6 separate regions of the Homo sapiens genome follow, and regions 2, 3, 4, 5 and 6 are each linked to region 1. Evidence: promoter capture Hi-C in 16 types of primary human blood cells and fetal thymus (Javierre and others, 2016). All regions are on one chromosome and are shown on one strand. The core of a region is centred on a gene start or on the middle of the fragment in contact, and the rest is flanking DNA. Distances in the headings are between cores, read along the strand shown.

What was found. The method cuts DNA at HindIII sites, captures the fragments that hold promoters and counts their contacts. A CHiCAGO score of 5 or more calls a contact.
Region 2: a fragment that was not itself captured here is called in contact with the fragment with the promoter of LEF1-AS1 in region 1 in 5 of 17 cell types (non-activated CD4 T cells, activated CD4 T cells, total CD4 T cells and 2 more); the score reaches 8.4 in non-activated CD4 T cells.
Region 3: a contact is called between a fragment that was not itself captured here and the fragment with the promoter of LEF1-AS1 in region 1, in 1 of 17 cell types (naive CD4 T cells). The highest score is 6.2, in naive CD4 T cells.
Region 4: a fragment that was not itself captured here is called in contact with the fragment with the promoter of LEF1-AS1 in region 1 in 5 of 17 cell types (fetal thymus, non-activated CD4 T cells, total CD4 T cells and 2 more); the score reaches 8.7 in fetal thymus.
Region 5: a contact is called between a fragment that was not itself captured here and the fragment with the promoter of LEF1-AS1 in region 1, in 7 of 17 cell types (fetal thymus, naive CD4 T cells, non-activated CD4 T cells and 4 more). The highest score is 13.0, in fetal thymus.
Region 6: a fragment that was not itself captured here is called in contact with the fragment with the promoter of LEF1-AS1 in region 1 in 1 of 17 cell types (non-activated CD4 T cells); the score reaches 5.9 in non-activated CD4 T cells.

What each region holds. Positions count from the first base shown.
Region 1 is chr4:108,166,271-108,169,151 of GRCh38, forward strand. It overlaps LEF1-AS1 (LEF1 antisense RNA 1), which reads left to right and starts at 1,255. Exons shown (of 3, transcript NR_029374.1): 1 at 1,255-1,563. It overlaps LEF1 (lymphoid enhancer binding factor 1), which reads right to left and starts at 2,662. Exons shown (of 12, transcript NM_016269.5): 1 at 1,285-2,662. The coding sequence starts at 1,497. LOC124900752 reads left to right here and starts at 1,669. Exons shown (of 2, transcript XM_047416528.1): 1 at 1,669-2,632; 2 at 2,840-2,881. The coding sequence starts at 2,230. RefSeq lists silencers at 616-855, 2,612-2,661 and enhancers at 733-1,234, 2,262-2,351. The HindIII fragment of the contact is 8,163 bases long and covers 1-2,881 here.
Region 2 is chr4:108,327,526-108,330,447 of GRCh38, forward strand. No RefSeq gene overlaps it. Among named protein-coding and RNA genes, the nearest start is that of LEF1, 160 kb to the left of the region's middle. The HindIII fragment of the contact is 2,965 bases long and covers 1-2,912 here.
Region 3 is chr4:107,995,649-107,998,438 of GRCh38, forward strand. The region is part of intron 1 of HADH (hydroxyacyl-CoA dehydrogenase); the gene reads left to right. Among named protein-coding and RNA genes, the nearest start is that of HADH, 7.2 kb to the left of the region's middle. The HindIII fragment of the contact is 5,569 bases long and covers 1-2,790 here.
Region 4 is chr4:108,400,445-108,403,606 of GRCh38, forward strand. It overlaps the pseudogene ZACNP1. Among named protein-coding and RNA genes, the nearest start is that of RPL34-DT, 220 kb to the right of the region's middle. The HindIII fragment of the contact is 256 bases long and covers 1,236-1,491 here.
Region 5 is chr4:108,015,680-108,018,543 of GRCh38, forward strand. All of the region lies in intron 3 of HADH (hydroxyacyl-CoA dehydrogenase), which reads left to right. Among named protein-coding and RNA genes, the nearest start is that of HADH, 27 kb to the left of the region's middle. The HindIII fragment of the contact is 3,162 bases long and covers 1-2,864 here.
Region 6 is chr4:108,377,800-108,380,640 of GRCh38, forward strand. No RefSeq gene overlaps it. Among named protein-coding and RNA genes, the nearest start is that of LEF1, 210 kb to the left of the region's middle. The HindIII fragment of the contact is 5,062 bases long and covers 1-2,841 here.

The DNA of each region.
Region 1 (2,881 bases), core at 5-2,504:
CCTCTGCCATTGGGATAGAGAAGGCAGATCTGAGGTGTTCTTAAACGCGCTGTTTAAAACCCAAAATGTCCCCGCCCTCAAAACCACACACTTTCTTTTTGGGGGTAGAAAGATGCCATTTAAGGAAAAAAAGGTATATCCTCCAAGTTTCTTTGGAGGGAAAAGGCGTTGGTTAAATCATTCGGGTGTCAGGACTTTTCTACCGGATTTCCTCCAGAGGGTTTCCCAGTTGTGGAACAAGGGTGACCAGTGGAGTGTCGGGTATCAGGGTCCATCCGCCCCCTAGACCAGCTCTGGACTAGGCTTCAAACAGCCCTCCAGCGCGGCCCTGCTCCGCGCTTTCTCTAGCCAGCACCCACGTGTCTCTATTTACTCTACTCAGGTTACCAGCTCTATCGCCCGCAGCGGGCCAGAAGACCCGATAAAGCGCCTTCCACCCTGCAGGACTAGTGCCCGGCTTCCGCTGCTTCTCCGCCTTTCTTCTGCGTAGATTTAAGGCCTGATCCGGTCCCAAACCCCAAATAAAAGTTGTGGGTTTGTTTCCAAGTGATGGCGGTTGGAGAAAACTAGAGTTGGGGGCGGTACAGCCAGGGTGTACCCTTGCGGTGGGTCGGCTCGGCGCACCCACAGCTCCCAGCTGCTAGCCCAGGCGCTGGGGCCGCAGGGACTGAACCCCGCACCGCCCCCGCAGCCCGGGTGCGCGCCCCATCGGCCGGCCTGCTCCCCGCGGCCCGGCTCACCGGTGGTAGGGACGGCCCCGCCTGCCCCAGCCCACGCCCGCCTCCCCTTCCTCCCGCCTGTGGCTCTGCTCGTCTCCACCTAAGCCTTTGGTGGTTTAACGCACTTTTGCAGAGACATCTACCAAGAGATAGCGTGTGCACTTTGTTTTCCGTCCCACGGAAGAATTTATCAGTAGCGTTATTCAGCCCTACTCGCTTTAAAGCACGGCACCCCTCAGCCCAACAAAAAGACCGAAGGCGAAACATTGTGGGTTCCTGCCCGCGAACCAACCGTTCAGCCACCGAACCCCCTAAACTGATCCATTTGGAATAAGTTACCCTGCCCCTCTACCTCCCATCCTACACACACACACACACACACACACACACACACACACACACACACTGCGGACCGGGGGCCCAGCTACGCACACACCCCAAAACAAACGAGGGATCTACTCGGGACCCTCAGCCGGGCGGCCGGGCGCCTTCGTTCCCTTCCTCCCTCTCTGAGTTTCCCAGGGACCCGCCACGCCTCTCGGAACTGGGGCAGCGGCCCGCTCACCTCGTGTCCGTTGCTGGCCGGGATGATTTCAGACTCGTTCACCAAGGAAGACTTGATGTCAGCTAAATCGCCTTCCTCTTCGGGATGACTGATCTCGGCGAAGATCTTTTCCTTCTGAGGATCGCCCTCGTCCTTGAAGGGGATCATCTCGTCCGTGGCGCAGAGTTCCGGGTCCCCCCCGCCGCCGCCACCTCCTCCGGAGAGTTGGGGCATCCCGGCGGCTCTGTAATCTCCGCTCCGCTGTGGGAGCACCCGCGCAACAGCAGGAAAGACAGAGGGGTAACTCAAGGGTGGGGGAGGAAAGGAGAGTTGGAAGGGTTCGTGCAGCAGGACAGCGGGCGGAAGCGGGGCGGGCGAGCGCGGGGCCGCCGGCCGGCAGCCGGAGCAGCTGCCGCGGCGCCCGAATCCCGGCGGCCGCCGCGCTTTCCCGCTTCGCGGAGACCGACGCAGGCGCCCGCCCCCGAGGCCGAAGGGCACTGGGCGGCGAGGGCTGCGGTAGCTGGCGACTCCGGGGGCGTCTGCGCGGCGCGCGCTAGACGAGGCTGCCCCGGCGGCCACCCCGCGACCCCGCGTCGCCGGGATTTGCGCGCGGAGAACGCCGGTTCTGGAGGGAGCACGCCTCCCCAAAGTGCAGAGGAGGGTCCGGCGGCGCGTCTCCGCGGAAACCCTCTCCACTGTAGTTACCCCGGATGCCGACTTAGTAGTTTGTTTTCCGAGAAAAGAGAGGGGATCTGGGCAGAAGGGCCCCGTTTGCCCCAAAAGAAGGTGCAAGGATCAGAAGATAACGAAACGTCCACTTCCTGAAGGGTGGGAAAAAAAGAAAAAGAAAAAGGAGCCACCCACGCTGGAGATGTCCGTTTTAGATCTTCTTATTTTCTTCCCTTTCGCTTCGGTTTTTCTTCTCGAGGCTCATTTAATCTGCTAGAGAAGGAGGAGGAGCAGAAGATGGGGGCCGAGGAGGAGGGGAAGAGAAAGAGAAGTTTGCCAAGAATAAAGTTTTTGCCGGCAAGCGCGGGGACTCCGCAGTGGAGGGCACTGCGGAGTCTCGGGGAGTCACAGCGGGGGCCTCGGGCCCAAATGCCTCTGCCCGGAGCTCGAGCCGACACACACACTCAGTCCGACCCCTCTTTGTTCCCGGCTCGAGTTTCTCAGCCTGGCTCGCCGGCTCGCCGCTCTGCACGCCTCCGCCGGCCAGCTCTGTCAAAGCAAAGAGCTGCGCCCCTTGAGTTCGCCCGGCCGAGGGGAGGGGACGCCCCGAGCTTGGCCGCGTGCGAGGCTCCGGGCGCGTCCTGGTTCCTCGGCCCGAGAGCGCGCAGCCCGGGTCCCTCCTCCGCGCCCTGCCCCGCAGGTGAGCGGCTGCGCCTCCCCACTGCTTCTCCTCCTCCCGCGCCTCGCCGGCGCTGAAAAGCTACCCACTTGCGTCGCTTCTCCTCCCTCTCCCCTCCCCCGCCTCTAGCTCTCCTTGGCTGCCCGCTGGAGGGGAGGCGGGGGGTGAGGGGGAGTCGGCGAGAAGGAGGTGGTGATTGAGGGCTTTTTTTTCTTTTTCTTTTCCCAGATCCTGTAGGACGAGTCTTGGTTTTGGGGTGTGTGAGTGTGG
Region 2 (2,922 bases), core at 180-2,679, 160 kb after region 1:
TTTTTCATTGCCTTTGCTGAAGATCATACAGGAGTCTGTATCCCTAACTCTAACAACTCACAATAAAACACTTCGTAAATCCCAGTTAGACATTTTAGTTTTCTGTATCATCTCCCAGGGATGCTCTCTTGGCTGGGGGAATGTTTTTCCTCCAGCCTCTCTTTATAGAGCCACATTCTTGCCTACTTCCTTCTTCTTCTCCTTATTGCATTTTCTCCCCCCTAGAAACTTCAATTACTCCCGCTATTTTATCATGTAGAGCACCTGCTCACTTTCTTATGAAACTAGGGCCCCGCGCAGAGAGGCAGGTGGTTGCTACTAGCTTGTACTATTTTCTTTAGGTCTCAACATGTTTGTGTCTCTTCCTACAAAGAAATTCTCTGACCCTAACCACATAGAGGAAAACATTTGTTCTTCTCCTTTTTCCCTTAAGTTACTTCCTTAGAGCGCTGAAAGCCAAATTCTGACATTCTCATGCTATCTGTATCGTGGGATTCTACTGGGAGTCATGCATTACCTATATTTGATGGATGTACTTGGTACACTCAGGCTTCCTCCGTAAGTCATTCCTTCTTCCCCTCCCCTCAGTGCCTATTTGTCTCAGGTCTTGAGCTTCAGGTACTGAAAGATTTGAACTGGAGTCTTATCTCCACAACTTACTAAGTTTGTGAATTTAAACATATTTTACTACTCTGAGTCATTGTATCCACATCTATAAAATAGCACCTACCTATGAAGAGTAAATGTGTTAACACACACAAGTTAGCACAGTGGCCTGAGAAAATGCCCAACAAATGTTGACTGTTATTATGCCACTCTTCTTTTTGGCATTTCTGCCCTCTCGATACCTTCTTGGTATAGGCATTAATTTGTTAGTTTCCCTAATTTCTTCATCATTCATCTTTCCTCTGTAGAAACCTCAGATGAGGTTAAGTGAAACCCGCTACCGTGTCTTCACTTCTCAGAGGATACTTTGTTCCTCTTGTCTTCTTCTTGTACTTTCTTATTTATCCTTAGCTTCTGGAAATACCTTTCTTTGCCTATAGTGCCCTTGAACTCTATCTTCTTCATTTCCTGTGGTTTATTTAAGTTCCTGCTTACCACCTCTTCTGTCTCCTCCAGTCTCTGATGACTTTCCTTTGTGCCTTTGGACACTCAGATTTCTTTTCCCTTTTCATACTTGTCCTTCACATTTGGCTCAGTGACACTATTCTCTTATGCATACAAATTCTTTTCATCTTTGTAGAGATTACATGTAATTCTCTTTTACAGAGAGAAACAGCATTCATTTATTCATTCATTGAGTGAATGTTATTGAGAGCCTGCTATCTTCAAGGGACTGGATCGAGTCTTTGGGAGACAGAAATTAAAGGCACAGTTCCTGCTCTTGAAGAGCTCACAGTCTATTGGGGAAGAAGATGAATAAACAAATTCCACTTTGGTAACGTGTCTATGAAAGGGCCAATGCAAGGTGAATTGAGAAGGGGCAATTAGTAGAAATTGAGGTGGAAGGAAGAGGTGTGAAGGAAAGCATTCCAGAACTGTTGACATCAGAGTTGAGTTTCAAAGCATGAAAAGAAATAAGCCAGGAGGAGTGGGCTGTGAATATGTTGGGAGTGCAGATTCTAGTTAGGGGGGGCAATGTTTGCCTCTGCATTACGTCAAATCCTTCATAGTTGTGGAATATAAAGTAGTTCAGCCACTGTGGAAAGCCGTTTGGAGATTTCTCAAGGAACTAAAAACAGAACTATCATTTGACTCAGCAATCTCATGACTGAGTATATACCCAAAGGAAAAGAAATCACTCTACCAAAAAGACACATACAGCTATATGTTCATCACAACACTATTCATAGTAACAAAGACATGGAATCAACCTAGGTGGCCATCAACAGAGGATTAGATAAAGAAAATGTGGTACACATACAACATGGAATACTCTGCAGCCATAAAAAGAATGAAATCATGTCCTTTGCAGCAACATGGATGCAGCTGGAGGCCAATATCCTAAGTGAACTAATGTGAAACAGAAAACCAAACGCCGTATGTTTTCATTTGTAAATGAGAGCTAAACATTGGATACACGTGGTCAGAAAGATGGGAACAATAGATGCTGGAGACTACTAGAGGGAGGGAGGAGGGAGGGAGGAGGGAGGGAGGGAGGGGGACAAGGGCTGAAAAACTACCTGTTGGGTACTATGCTCAGTACCTGGGTGATGGGTTCAACTGGACCCTAAACCTCATCATCACACAATATACTCTTGTAACAAACCTGGACGTGTACCCCTGAATCTAAAATAAAAGATGGAGGAAAAATCTTTCATAGCTGAATTACTTGACTACTCATTGTATCAGATGATTTTTTGAAACCTAGCTACAGGATGTCCTGTAGCTGCATTCCTTATCAATGATAACCTTTCTTGACTAACAAATAAAAAGAATTGCTGCTTAGGTAATCCTGTGTTCTTTTTTGATAAAGCCCTATTTCATATTTACCTCCTTGCCAATCTAAACTAGTCTATAATTTTTAAACCTACTGTTTTATTCATGAAGATGATAAAAATGTTGTTTGCACTGATCTGTTAAATAAAATAGCCACACAGTTCTGACATCTTTTCTTCTGATGTATTTTCTAAACTTTGCATAAAAGTTCTCACTTCTAATGGTTTTAATTACTGCAAATAAATATGCCCCATGGGTTTATTCCAATGAATTGATAACCAGGTTCCCTCCCATCTTATGGTCTCTTGACTTCATAACAAAACTATCTTCAAAGGGGTCCAGTCTTCACAGGATCCATATTTGTTATTACTATTTTTGTAGTGCCCTCCTCCTTCCTGCTCTTCCCACTCCTCCTCCTTCCCCTTCCTTCCTCGTTTGCCCTTTCTTATCATCCCTCAACTCACAACAGAAGCTTGTAGC
Region 3 (2,790 bases), core at 281-2,780, 170 kb before region 1:
CATTACAATAATCACCCCTGCAGAGATGGTTCCTGGGGTCAATGGTCAGAGGCAGAGCTGGGGTTAGAACTTGAGTTCTCTTCTGTTCTGCTGCCTGTAAATCCCCAAGCCTGAATTCAGTTCTGCCTGCACCTCTGGCAAGTGCTGTATTGTGGGGAGAAGTGTGGCATCCATGGCAGGGGATCCTCTGTGGCTCTCTGGAATCAGTACATCCCAGGTTGACGTCTCCTTGGCTCTGGACTCAAAGTTAGTCTACCTGCTGGTCGTCTACATCAGGGTGCTGTGCTGCCATCCTTCTGCCCATGGTAGACTCAAACTCACCTGCCAAGATCTAATTCATTATTTCCCCTCCAGCTTTTTCCAGAGAGCTTGCCCCTCCTGTTGCTGCAGTTGTTCTTCCAGCCACATGTACTCTGAAGATGGGATCACAATCAGTGTCTCCATACCAGAAAAGGCTCTGTAACTTTTTGGTCATGGGAGAGCTCTTTCCTCTGCCCTCTCCTTTGCAGTTCCTAGACCAGGTGTGTTAACCTGAATTGTCATGGGAGCCTCTTAATTGGTCCTTTCAGCAAAAACTAAAAGAAAAAACCCACTCATCATGGCAAACATTGTCATATTAGTCTTCCTGGAGAGGCATTTGGATTTATAACTCTCCTCTACCCGGAAAGTGTCCATCATAGCAACATCTTCCAGGGATTCTTAAATATAACGATGCTGTTGACATGTCTGGTTATCCCTTTACCTTTTCAGAATTTGTGGGAGGTGAGAAGTCTGGGAGAGGTTATCTGGGTTATTATGAAACCTACACACTTACTGAATTAAAAAAAAACTATGTAACACAATTCTAGTCTAAAAATGGGCGCACACTTTCTTTGCCTTTTAGAAATACTTTTTGAAATGTAAAATTCGAAGTCTAATAAAGGAGTCTGTCCAATTAATTTAACTGTTTGAAGAAAAAAACCAGTCCAGGCATGGTGGCTTACGCCTGTAATCCCATCACTTTGGGAGGCTGAGGCGAGCAGATCACTTGAAGTCAGGAGTTCGAGACTAGCCTGGCCAACAAAGTTAAACCCTGTCTCTACTAAAAATACAAAAATTAGCTGAGCATGGTGACACATGCCTGCAGTCCCAGCTATTCAGGAGACTGAGGTGGAAGAATTGCTTGAACCCAGGAGGCGGAGGATGCAGTGAGCCAAGATCACACCACTACACTGCAGCCTGGCCAACAGAGCAAGACTCCTTCTCAAAAAAAAAAAAAAAAAGAACAAACCAGCTGGTTGTGGTGGTGGTGGTTGACATCCTCAACAGAACAGCTTTTGCTAATTGTTGAAGTCAGGGAAGACAACTTGTGCTGATGGCAGAGTTCAAGACATTACACAACCAGAGACAATCATAAACCCAGAAATGCCAGCCCTGAGAGATGCAACTGATGTATGACTTTTTTCCTCTCTGGATCAAACCATGACAACCGTAAAAGGCAGGCCTTGCTGTTAAGGCGCTGCAGCCTCTGAAGCACAGTTGGCCTCAGGGAGCTCTGACTCAGTCTACTTATTCTGGGGATCTGAAGAAAGTCAGAAATCATGTGTGGTAGATAGTTTGCATAACTTTGGGATTTTCCAGAGAGAGGATGAAAACGGTGGCCCTCCTTGTAATGTCTAGGCACATGGGACATCCAGTGGAACTGTTGAGGGAGGAGATGGGAGGGAGACCAGTCACCAGACCAGTTGATGTAGGTCTCATAGACTCACCACTCAAGTTGTGCTTCGGAGAAAGCTGCTTCAAATCTTCTTGATACATTTACAAAGATAAATAAATCCAGTGTGCTTCTGCTTGGCATGTTTACTTGGTCCTGTGGTCAGAGTGCTCTGGGGCTTTGACAAATGTGCTAGTCACTTAGCCTATTTTTACAACTCTGAAGCAGCCGTGTCTAAAAATATTTCCTCTCTGGCTGAGCCTGCCTTCCACCAGGCCTAGAAAAGTCATGGAGCTGAGGACATAGCCTTCAAATATTTTTTTTTCCATTGCAGACTGCTTGTCCTCAAGGTCTTACCAGCATGTAGGTCACTGTAATATAAAACATGAGTTCTCAATGGATTGATTTAAATTGTGGTCACTCAAACTGCCAGGAAGAGTCCTCCTCATTTGTTGTAAAAATAACAGATGTCTATGAAAGGAGAAGAAGAAGGCCTTTCTTTTTTTGCAGTTCATTTCTCCACTGCCTTCTCCATCCCAGAAAGTTGGCGGTAACTTGGGTGTTACTGAATTACTCAGGAGAATGAATTGTACTTGTTTCTCTGTAGTTATTTTCTAAATAAGAGGTTACGTTATCAGGAGAGGCCATCAGCTACAGCAGTGGAAAGAGCCACCAGGTCTCATCTTGACTTTACCAACAAATGTCTTTATTCAGTCAACATTCCCTGAGGGCCAGCCACAGCCAGGCAGGGTCTAGGTTCTCAGTGTACAAAGATGAATGACATTTGGTCAGGAGCCTACAGTAGAGGAGTTCAGATTACTATAACACAGTTTGGTAGGTGCTGTGGTACACAGATGCAGGGATGTTACAGGGCATATGGGGGACATCTAGCTTAGGGCTGAGAGGATCTTGGGGAGTAGGCTTACTAACTGGAAATGATTGTTTTGTTTTGTTTTGAGACAGAGTCTCTCTCTATCACCCAGGCTAGAGTGCAGAGGCGTGATCTTGGCTCACTGCAGTGTCCACCTCCCAGGTTCAAGCAATTCTTCTGCCTCAGCCTCCTGAGGAGCTGGCATTGCAGGCGTGCACCACCATGC
Region 4 (3,162 bases), core at 114-2,613, 230 kb after region 1:
ATAGGAATTAATTACTGTTTGTAAAGTACTTTGAAGATGAAAAGTGTGATGTGACATCATCATTATGATGATGAAATATCTTCCATCGTTACCGGCCAGATTCTGCCAGATTCAAGCAAACATTTCATTTTGGGTTCCAAATGAGACCTTCACAGCCACACATGCGTGAGTCAGTGCACACACACATGGTCTCACGGAATATCGAGAGGTGGAGAACAACAGAAGCCATTTTCACCTAAGAAAGCCTTCTTCCTGTAATCCCAGCACTTTTGGAGGCCTAGGAGGGCAGATCACGAGGTCAGGAGATCGAGACCATCCTGGCTAACACGGTGAAACCCCATCTCTACTAAAAATACAACAAAAAATTAGCCGGGTGTGGTGGTGGGCGCCTGTAGTCCCAGCTACTCGGGAGGCTGAGGCAGGAGAATGGCGTGAACCTGGGAGCTTGCAGTGAGCCAAGATCGCCCCACTGCACTCCAGCCTGGGAGACAGAGTGGGACTCCATTTCATAAAAAATAAATAAATAAAAATAAATTTAAAAAAATTAAAATTAAAATAAAAGAAAGGCTTCTTCCTATTTATGGGGCAATGGTAGTCAGGAGATTCGGGGGGTGACAAGTGGCAGTGATCAGTGGCTCCAAGATACAAAATAGTCTATCATGTATATGGTTCAGCAGGAGCAGAGCCAACCATTTCCACTTCAACCATGTGCTCACGGTACACAGCATAGATGCTAATGATGCCTTCTTATGGATAATTTTTGTCCTTACTTTTGTGGTAGGAGAGCCATAACAGGTTGGGCATATAAAACCCATCTGCCACCTTGACTTTCACAAAGATGAAGTGCCTCTGCAAAGTTTCCTTCCATAAAAGGCCACAGAAACAAAAACATTCTCAGGATTTCAGTATCTTAAAGTATTAGATCATCCCTCTTCTCCAATGAGTATAATCTAACTTTTTGGAATGTTTAGAGGCAAAAAGTGAAATTTTGTCAAACTACCTTTTATTTGCATTCTGGTGTTGTCCTATGGCTGACTGTGGGAATGTTTTCTCATTCTTTGTCCTCATCTGGTTAAAAAACAGTGTGTGTGGCAGATTGTGTTTGTTAGTGGGGCTGAATATGTGGGGATGCTAGGGCGAGATTATTAAAGAAAGAAGGGTCTGTACTGGGGGAAGAAATCGGTTAAGTTAGAGTTTATATCTGGCCCCTGTGGTTGATTTATTTGAAAGTGTTAAGCTTCTAATGTAGCATAGGCAAAATTTACTTAAATCTAATTTTGCTATGAAAGAAAAATCGGCAACAACCCAAATTCCAGAAGAAACCATTTATGATTATGCTGTTTGTTTATATAATAATCTAGATACTTCTTTTCCTAGTAGAGTAATTACATCTAGGAAGCCAGGAGGTAACTATGCGAATTACCCTGAAGGGCAGGAACACCAGGTAGGGAACAAGCCAACTCAAATTATGTATTCAAATGGAGCGCACAAAGCTTTCCCGTTTATGGCAGATTGTGTTCTTGACATGGAGTTTGAAAATCCAAATACTGTAAGTCAAATGTGATTTCTAAATAGAAACCGTTGTGTAATAGGAAGTTAGGCCCTGGTTACAGGTATAATGGCCAATTGGTTTCTTTATTACAAAAGTAATTCATGTTCATGATTTTTAAAACTAAATAAGAAAAAAGTATTCATAATCCTTCTGCCTAGAGATAACCACTGTTTATGTTTCAGTGACACTGTTCTTTCAGAACTTAGATGTATGTGTTTTTTTTAAAAAATGAATAATACTGAACATAAGGTTTTATAACCTTTTAAATACATTTATTATAAAATTTTGCCACATTAATAAAATAAATTTTAGTGTGGGTTGATACAATTATAAATAAGGGTGGTACAGATTGCCATATGCATACTGGCTATGTATTTCTTAAAACTGGAATTTCTTGTTCGTATTCCAAGCCTATGTTTTTTATTTTCATTTTTATTTTATTTTTTATAATTTCAACTTTTACTTTCAATGCAGGGGGTACATATACAGGTTTGTTACATGGGTATATTGCATGATGCTGAGGTTTGGGATGCAAATGATCTGTCACAGGTAGTGAGCATAGTACCCAATGGGTAGTTTTTCAGCCCTTGTCCCTCTCCCTCTCTCCCACTTCTTGCAGTCACTAGTTTCTATTTTTCCCATCTTTACGTCCATTTGTACCCAATGCTTAGCTCCCATTTATAATTGAGAACATGCAGCATTTGGTTTTCTGTTCCCGTGTTAATTCACCAAACCTGTTTTTTAAAATGGAAAGTTGATTTTATTGTCATCATAATCATCATCATTAGTTCATTAGAGATGTTAAAAATGAAGACATTAACCTCTCATGAGACATGTTTTCCGAATATTTGTACAATTTTTTCTTTTAACTTTTATAGCATTTTCTTTTGAAATTTTATAGCATTTTATTTTGATTTAAGAAAAAAATGTTTAAATTTTGTATAATTGTATCTATATATTCTTTATAATTTTTGCATTGGTGTCATGCTTAGAAAACTTCTTATATCCTCAAATTATGTAAATATTCACCATTAACTTAGCCTATAACTGTATATGCACACACACACACACACACAGACACACATTTAGTTCTGAAATTATTTGTGTATGTCTTGTGGGGAGATTAGAAATACTTGGTAATTTTTGGTAGACAGAGTCCCAGGAATGAGGAACTAATTTTTCCTCATTTCTATTTTTTTTATTTTTTTTTCTGAGTAGGCAAAAGTAGACTTCACGTTATTTGGTTATCTGTGACCTTTCTAAGGCTTTCTTGGACTTCCATTTTATTAGCACGTACTCCTTCCCCTTTTTAGCAATGATGTTATAAAAATTACCTGTCTTGAAACTGTATAGCCAGTTTCCTATTTGCAGAGAATTTTCACCTTCTGATCCCTCTACATGTTGCTGCTCCATGTCAACATGCCTTCAAAATCTGTTTCAGTCCTGAACCTGTTGAGACCTTGGTTTGAATCCTGAATCCATAAAATGAAAATTTTGTCTCTTTGGCCATACTTGGTGTTTCAACAGTCCCTCGCAGAGCACTACTCTGTCTCAAATGCCAGATTCTACTTTTAGCTCCTATTATCTAGCTGAGTGATCTTGAGCAACTT
Region 5 (2,864 bases), core at 302-2,801, 150 kb before region 1:
CCAGATGCGTGTAGAATTACCCATGGTAACATGGAGGGGTCCATCCAGGGACAGGCCTATGTTTCTTGAAGTGTGTAGGTCATGGATACTCCTATGCCAGAAGCTGCTCTGACGTTCCTTGGTTCATTTCACACTGGCATCTAGAGGCTGCAGAGACATCTGACAGCAGACAGTTAAGGACATGTAGGGTACTTCTGTGCTCCACTCTCGGGCATAGGAGTACCCTACGTGTCCTTAACTGTCTGCCAAGGACCCTCAGAGCAGTTCTGTGTTTCCTCCTTTTTTGGATGGAGCAAACAGAATGGTGTAATTGAAGGGAATGCCTATAGACAGAGAGGACTTTCCTGTTTTGAGCTTCATCTGGGTTCAATCGAAGTACTCTTGGGAGTGTTAAAGGAGCATTGACTTCTTAGCTGGCTGGCTTCCTGGTGGAATTCTTCCTGGCAGAATGTACCTTGGGATCCAGAGCCTTCGAGTGTGTGACACCTGACCCACTGATCAGTGCTCTTCTAGTGACTTGTTTGACTATATTTTCATGCTTCTTGGTTGGAATTGAATGGCAGAATAAGATTATATGACAAAAGCAATTCTCAGGGCACTTCCGGTGGGCAGTGGCTAAAGAGAGTCACTTGCATACCAGCTTGTCGGAATGTTAACCTTCAGAGATGGGTGGCCTTGTGGCCAGAGAGGCCCTGCCCCTGACAAAGAGAAGAGACTTGCCTTTCTGTCATCTGTCCATCACTGCCAATCAGTGTCCTCGTGCATTTCACACTGGCATCTAGAGGCTACAGAGACATCTGACAAAAACAGAATATACTTGTGGTACCGGGACTGGCTCCCAGGCCAGCAGGGAGCCCTCTGGGATAATAAACAGCCACCCCAAAAAAGGGAGTTTTGTCAAGCAGTTTGATCTTTATTGAAAAGATTGGTCGCTCTTGGTGACAGTGAAAGGCCTGACTGCCCTCCATTGTCCATGTCTGGTACAGAAGAAGGATCACTGGAGAAAGTCAGGAGGCCTGGGCCTGGTGCTGACCCCCTCACCACCTCCAGCCTTGGAAAGGTCCTCAGTTTCGTCATCTGTAATGCAAGTTGAGGTGATTGGGGTAAATAATTTCCTAGACCTTTCTGGCTCTAACTCTCTAAGACTAGCTTCCCCCATTTGTAAAATAGGAGCAGCAGCACTGGTACCTATTGTACAGAGTTGTTTAGGAAACTCATTTCATTTAGCTCACATTTCCTGAGTGCCTGCTGTGTATCAGGCACTACACTAGGCTCTTTAACCTGAATTGATGCAAAACAGATATGAGGTGTGAAAAGAAGGCATGACCCATAGTCATACCAAAGATGTGACTTTGCTGCTGACCTTCTCCACCTTTCTTGGCACTGTTTGTTTTTGTTTTAGATCACCACCATTATTGAATGCTTGCTACAATTTTTAAGCAGCCGTATTGAGAGGTACTTTACTGACAAATTTTACAGTTCGATCCTATAATGGGAGAAGAAAATATAGTCAAGTGATACATTTCGGGTTGGAAGCCCTGATGAAACAGTTGCATCCTGGAGAGAACATGACTTCTCTAGCAGCAGCCTAAGACACACAAATGAAAAGTATGACCAGACGCACAGGCAGCCAGATCGAAGTCCTGACTTTCCCCTTTAGACAAAGTACAGACTCTTGAATCCTTTGCCATCCCCACCAACCCTCTTGTCTTCTTTATACTAGGGTCTGGGGCCATTGCTAATAATCACTGTGCTTGTGTTGTCGATTTTCTTTTAGAACATTTAAGAGAAAAGTAGTTTTTTTGGTACCTGAGTGTCCGAATGAAAAAAACAAAAGATGGTTCAAGACAAGTGTTTCCAGGAACATGTAAGAGTACTTTTTTTTTTTTTTTGAGACGGAGTCTCGCTCTGTCGCCCAGGCTGGAGTGCAGTGGCATGATCTTAAGCTCACTGAAACCTCTGCCCCCCAGGTTCAAGCAATTCTCCTGCCTCAGCCTCCCTAGTGGCTGGGATTACAGGCATGCGCTACCATGCCCAGCTAATTTTTGTATTTTTAGTAGAGACGGGGCATGTTGGCCAGGCTCGTCTCGAACTCCTGACTTCAAGTGATCCACCTGCCTCGGCCTCCTAAAGTGCTGGTATTACAAGTGTGAGCCACCGTGCCCAGCCCAGAGTACATTTTGTTTGTGGATGAAAAGACTGTCCTATGTGTTTAGTATTCTCTGAAGACAGTGTGAGACTTTTAGGAACAAAGTCAGCCTGACCCTGTTGGGAGAGGCAGAAGCAGAGGTCTGCTGGGGAGAGATCATTTCCTCCTTCTGATAAAATGTGCCAGAGTGCCCTGGACTGGTGATACCTGGAACTGGGCTCTGATGTCACTTTATTTTACCAAATGTGCCCAAGTTTCCCCTTTTTGCAGGTGAATGGCCCTTCAAACATTCTACAAAAAGGGGTATTACGATTGTAATACTAATCTTTAAAATAACACTTTCTTTTCTTAACGGGAGTGTGGAGCCACAGCTGGCACAGCCTTGGGCCCAGGCTGTCCCTGCTCTGTTTTTGTGGTTCCAGGTGCTTGTGGTGCAGGTTGTGTGGTTGAACAGTGCTTGTGTTGGCCACACACATTGTTATTGGAAGAGGATCTTTTTTTCATTACCTTCTGTAATGGGGAATAGTTTATATTATTTTCCCCAATGACCAAAAGCAAGAAACTTTGAAAACTGAAATTTTAAGACCTTAAAACAATGTCATTTTTTTTTTAAAAAGGAAACCCTGGCATTTAAATGGCCTACCTTGGAAGCTGTTGGAGAAGGTGGATGTGCTCATACCTGGAAAGAGAAGGCTCTCCGCTGCCTACCCACACT
Region 6 (2,841 bases), core at 62-2,561, 210 kb after region 1:
GGCCAGATTTTTTTTTTCTTTCTAGAGAAGACAACAACCTTTTTTTTCTGTGAAATCTCTGAAACTGTAAATATTTGCAACATATTTATTATTTTTAAGCCATTTGTAGACCAAAGAAAACATATCTCTGGGCCTTCAGATTTCCCTGCAATAAACATTCACTCTACAATTATTTGCTGAGTACCTACGATGTGCCTGGCACTGTTTTGGGAGCCAGCAGATATAAAAATGCAAAAGACATGGATCGTGTTTTCAAATCCTTCGTTAAGCAAAGGAGAGAGACAGAAGCAGAAGCAGATGTAATAATAAGTGCTGGAATGGAACTAAAGGCTATACATCCACAGTAAAGGAAAGGGCAATCTCAGTTTCTGAGATTGGAGGTCTGGAATCACAAGAAGCGTTTTATCTCCTAGAGAGGTGGTTGCGGGGAAGGCATCAGGGAGAGAGGAAACAGCATTGCCAAAGGCATGCAGGGGAACACTGCACAGCACATGCGAAAACCAGGAGTGACCTTGTGGGGCTGCTGTGCAGGGCAAGTGGCAGGTGGGGAGGCTGGCTCTGAAAAGCCCCCACCTCCAGGCACCTTGCATTCTCCAGATCTTCGTTTTAACTGGTGGTGCCTGACTTTTCTGGGTCTCAGGTTGATCCAAGAATGGCAGAATACACTTCCATTTACCTCCGACACTCTCTGTGGAGTGTGACAGCTGAGGATCCAGGCACCATGGCAGTCTAAAAGTCTGCTGGGGACCCCCGCATGGATATGCTCTCCTTTATCCATGGCCGGCACACATCTGCAGCCGCTCTGTCTTGATTCACTGTCTGCACCTCTCATCCCATTGTAACTGTATCCGTTCAGCATCTGGGTGCTTCAATACCTATCCCTACTCAGCATCTGTTTACAGTTGAATACGTTGAATGGCAGCAGCACTGATTTCACCAACAGCTAAATTTTTAACATTAGGTAATTGGTTATCTTTCCTCAAACTTACACATCTGCCAAATCCATATGGGCGTCCTTAGTAATCTGTGAATATAATTCAGTTTTGCTGGCACTACCTAATATGGTGCCTGTCTTTTGTTTTTTAAAGACTTGCCTTTATCCTCCTAGTCTGAGTTGTACAGGTCATCAGACAACTATCCTGATTGACAGAGAGAAATATTGCCTTTTTTCTACATGAGCTGTAACTATGGGGCAGCATAGCATGGTGGTTAAACTTCTGAGTCTGGTGATAGGATTCAAATCCCAGCTCCATATCTGAACCATTGTGGTCACTTTACCTCTCCATGTTTGTTTACCATGCAGTACCTCATAGACTAAATGAGTTAATATAAGCAAAACACTTAGCACCTGACACACAGATGTATATGAGCATTAGCTATTATTATTAGTGATATTATTATTTCCAATGGTCCCAAATTGATAGAGGAGAACAGCTTTTTTAAAAAAAATTATATCTTCGACTGGGCCATATCCTTCTCCAGCTCTATATTTGAATTGTGCAATTTTTGTAGGGGAACAGAGTAGATTAGATAAGGTTTAAAAACCTTTTCTTTTAAGCAGACAGACATTCATGGGTATAGAATATTTTTTTCTTCTTTGTATTAACTGCTATGTGTAATTCTAGAATTTATCATCAAATTGGCTAGAATACGTTTTCCCTAGATTGAAGTAATAATAATCTCATTTGCCCCAACTCCAAAGCCCTTTGAAGTTAAACATTGAGAGGAAGAATGGTGGGGCCACTCAGCAGAGATTAGATCTTGTTTTAAACACTAGCTGCTCTGAGAATAATTTCCTTAATTAATATTCACAAGATATCATACACTTGAGACTATATTTTCATGTAACCTACTTGCATGTAATTGTTCGCTAAGGCTCTTCACTTCATTTGTATCTTCCTTTTGTGTCAGTATTCAACAAAATCATTTCCATCTAAAAGCAGTGCTGAAGGGGGTGGAGGTTCATTGGGTCTCCCCTTCCGTGTGAAAGCCAGCACACATGGGCTTTCATCTCATTTCTAAAGTTAATATTGTTTTGTGCTTATTCCTGTTCTTAACTAGATGCACATAGCTCCCAGACTTGCTCTCCTTTGTGGACTCAAGCCCTGAACATGTTCAGGTGTTGCCTTCTTGTCAGTCTCTTGTTACAGGGTGAGGAGCTTATCAAAGCACCCTGGAGTGTCAACTGGCCAAAGAGTCTTAAAACCCTGAAGTAGCCACATTTGCCATCAGTAACAGCATCTGAGGGGATCAGTCTGGGTCAGGAAACCAAAGATTGTCAACTTAAAGGACTTTAGGTTATTCAGGAGTCAGCTTGCCCAAAGGTCAGTGAAAGGAGCTAAGATAACTTGGAAGGAAATCTTTCTATATGAAGCCTTGTCAGTTTTGCATATTTCTCAGAAGAAATTTAAAAATTAAAAAGTTATCTTTTACACACTTTTGTTTAAGTTTAAATAAATTTGCTAACTGTTTAAGGTCTATCTGTTAGTCTATTTTTTGCTGCTATAACAAAATGCGACCGGCTGAGTAAATTATAAAGAACAAAAGTTTATTTGGCTCACAGTTCTGGAGGCTGGGTAGTTCAAGAGCATGGCACCAGCATCTGGTGAGGATCACCCCATGGCAGAAAGCAGAAAAGCAAGTGAGTGTGTGAGACAGAGAGAGAACAGGGGCCAAAATCATCCTTTTAGGAGGAGCCCACTCCCATGACGATGGCATTAATTCATTCATGAGGGCAGAACCCTCCTGATCTAATCATCTCGTAAGAGTCCCAACTTATCATACTGCCATAATGACAATTAAATTTCAACATGAGTTTTGGAGGAGACATTCAAACCACAG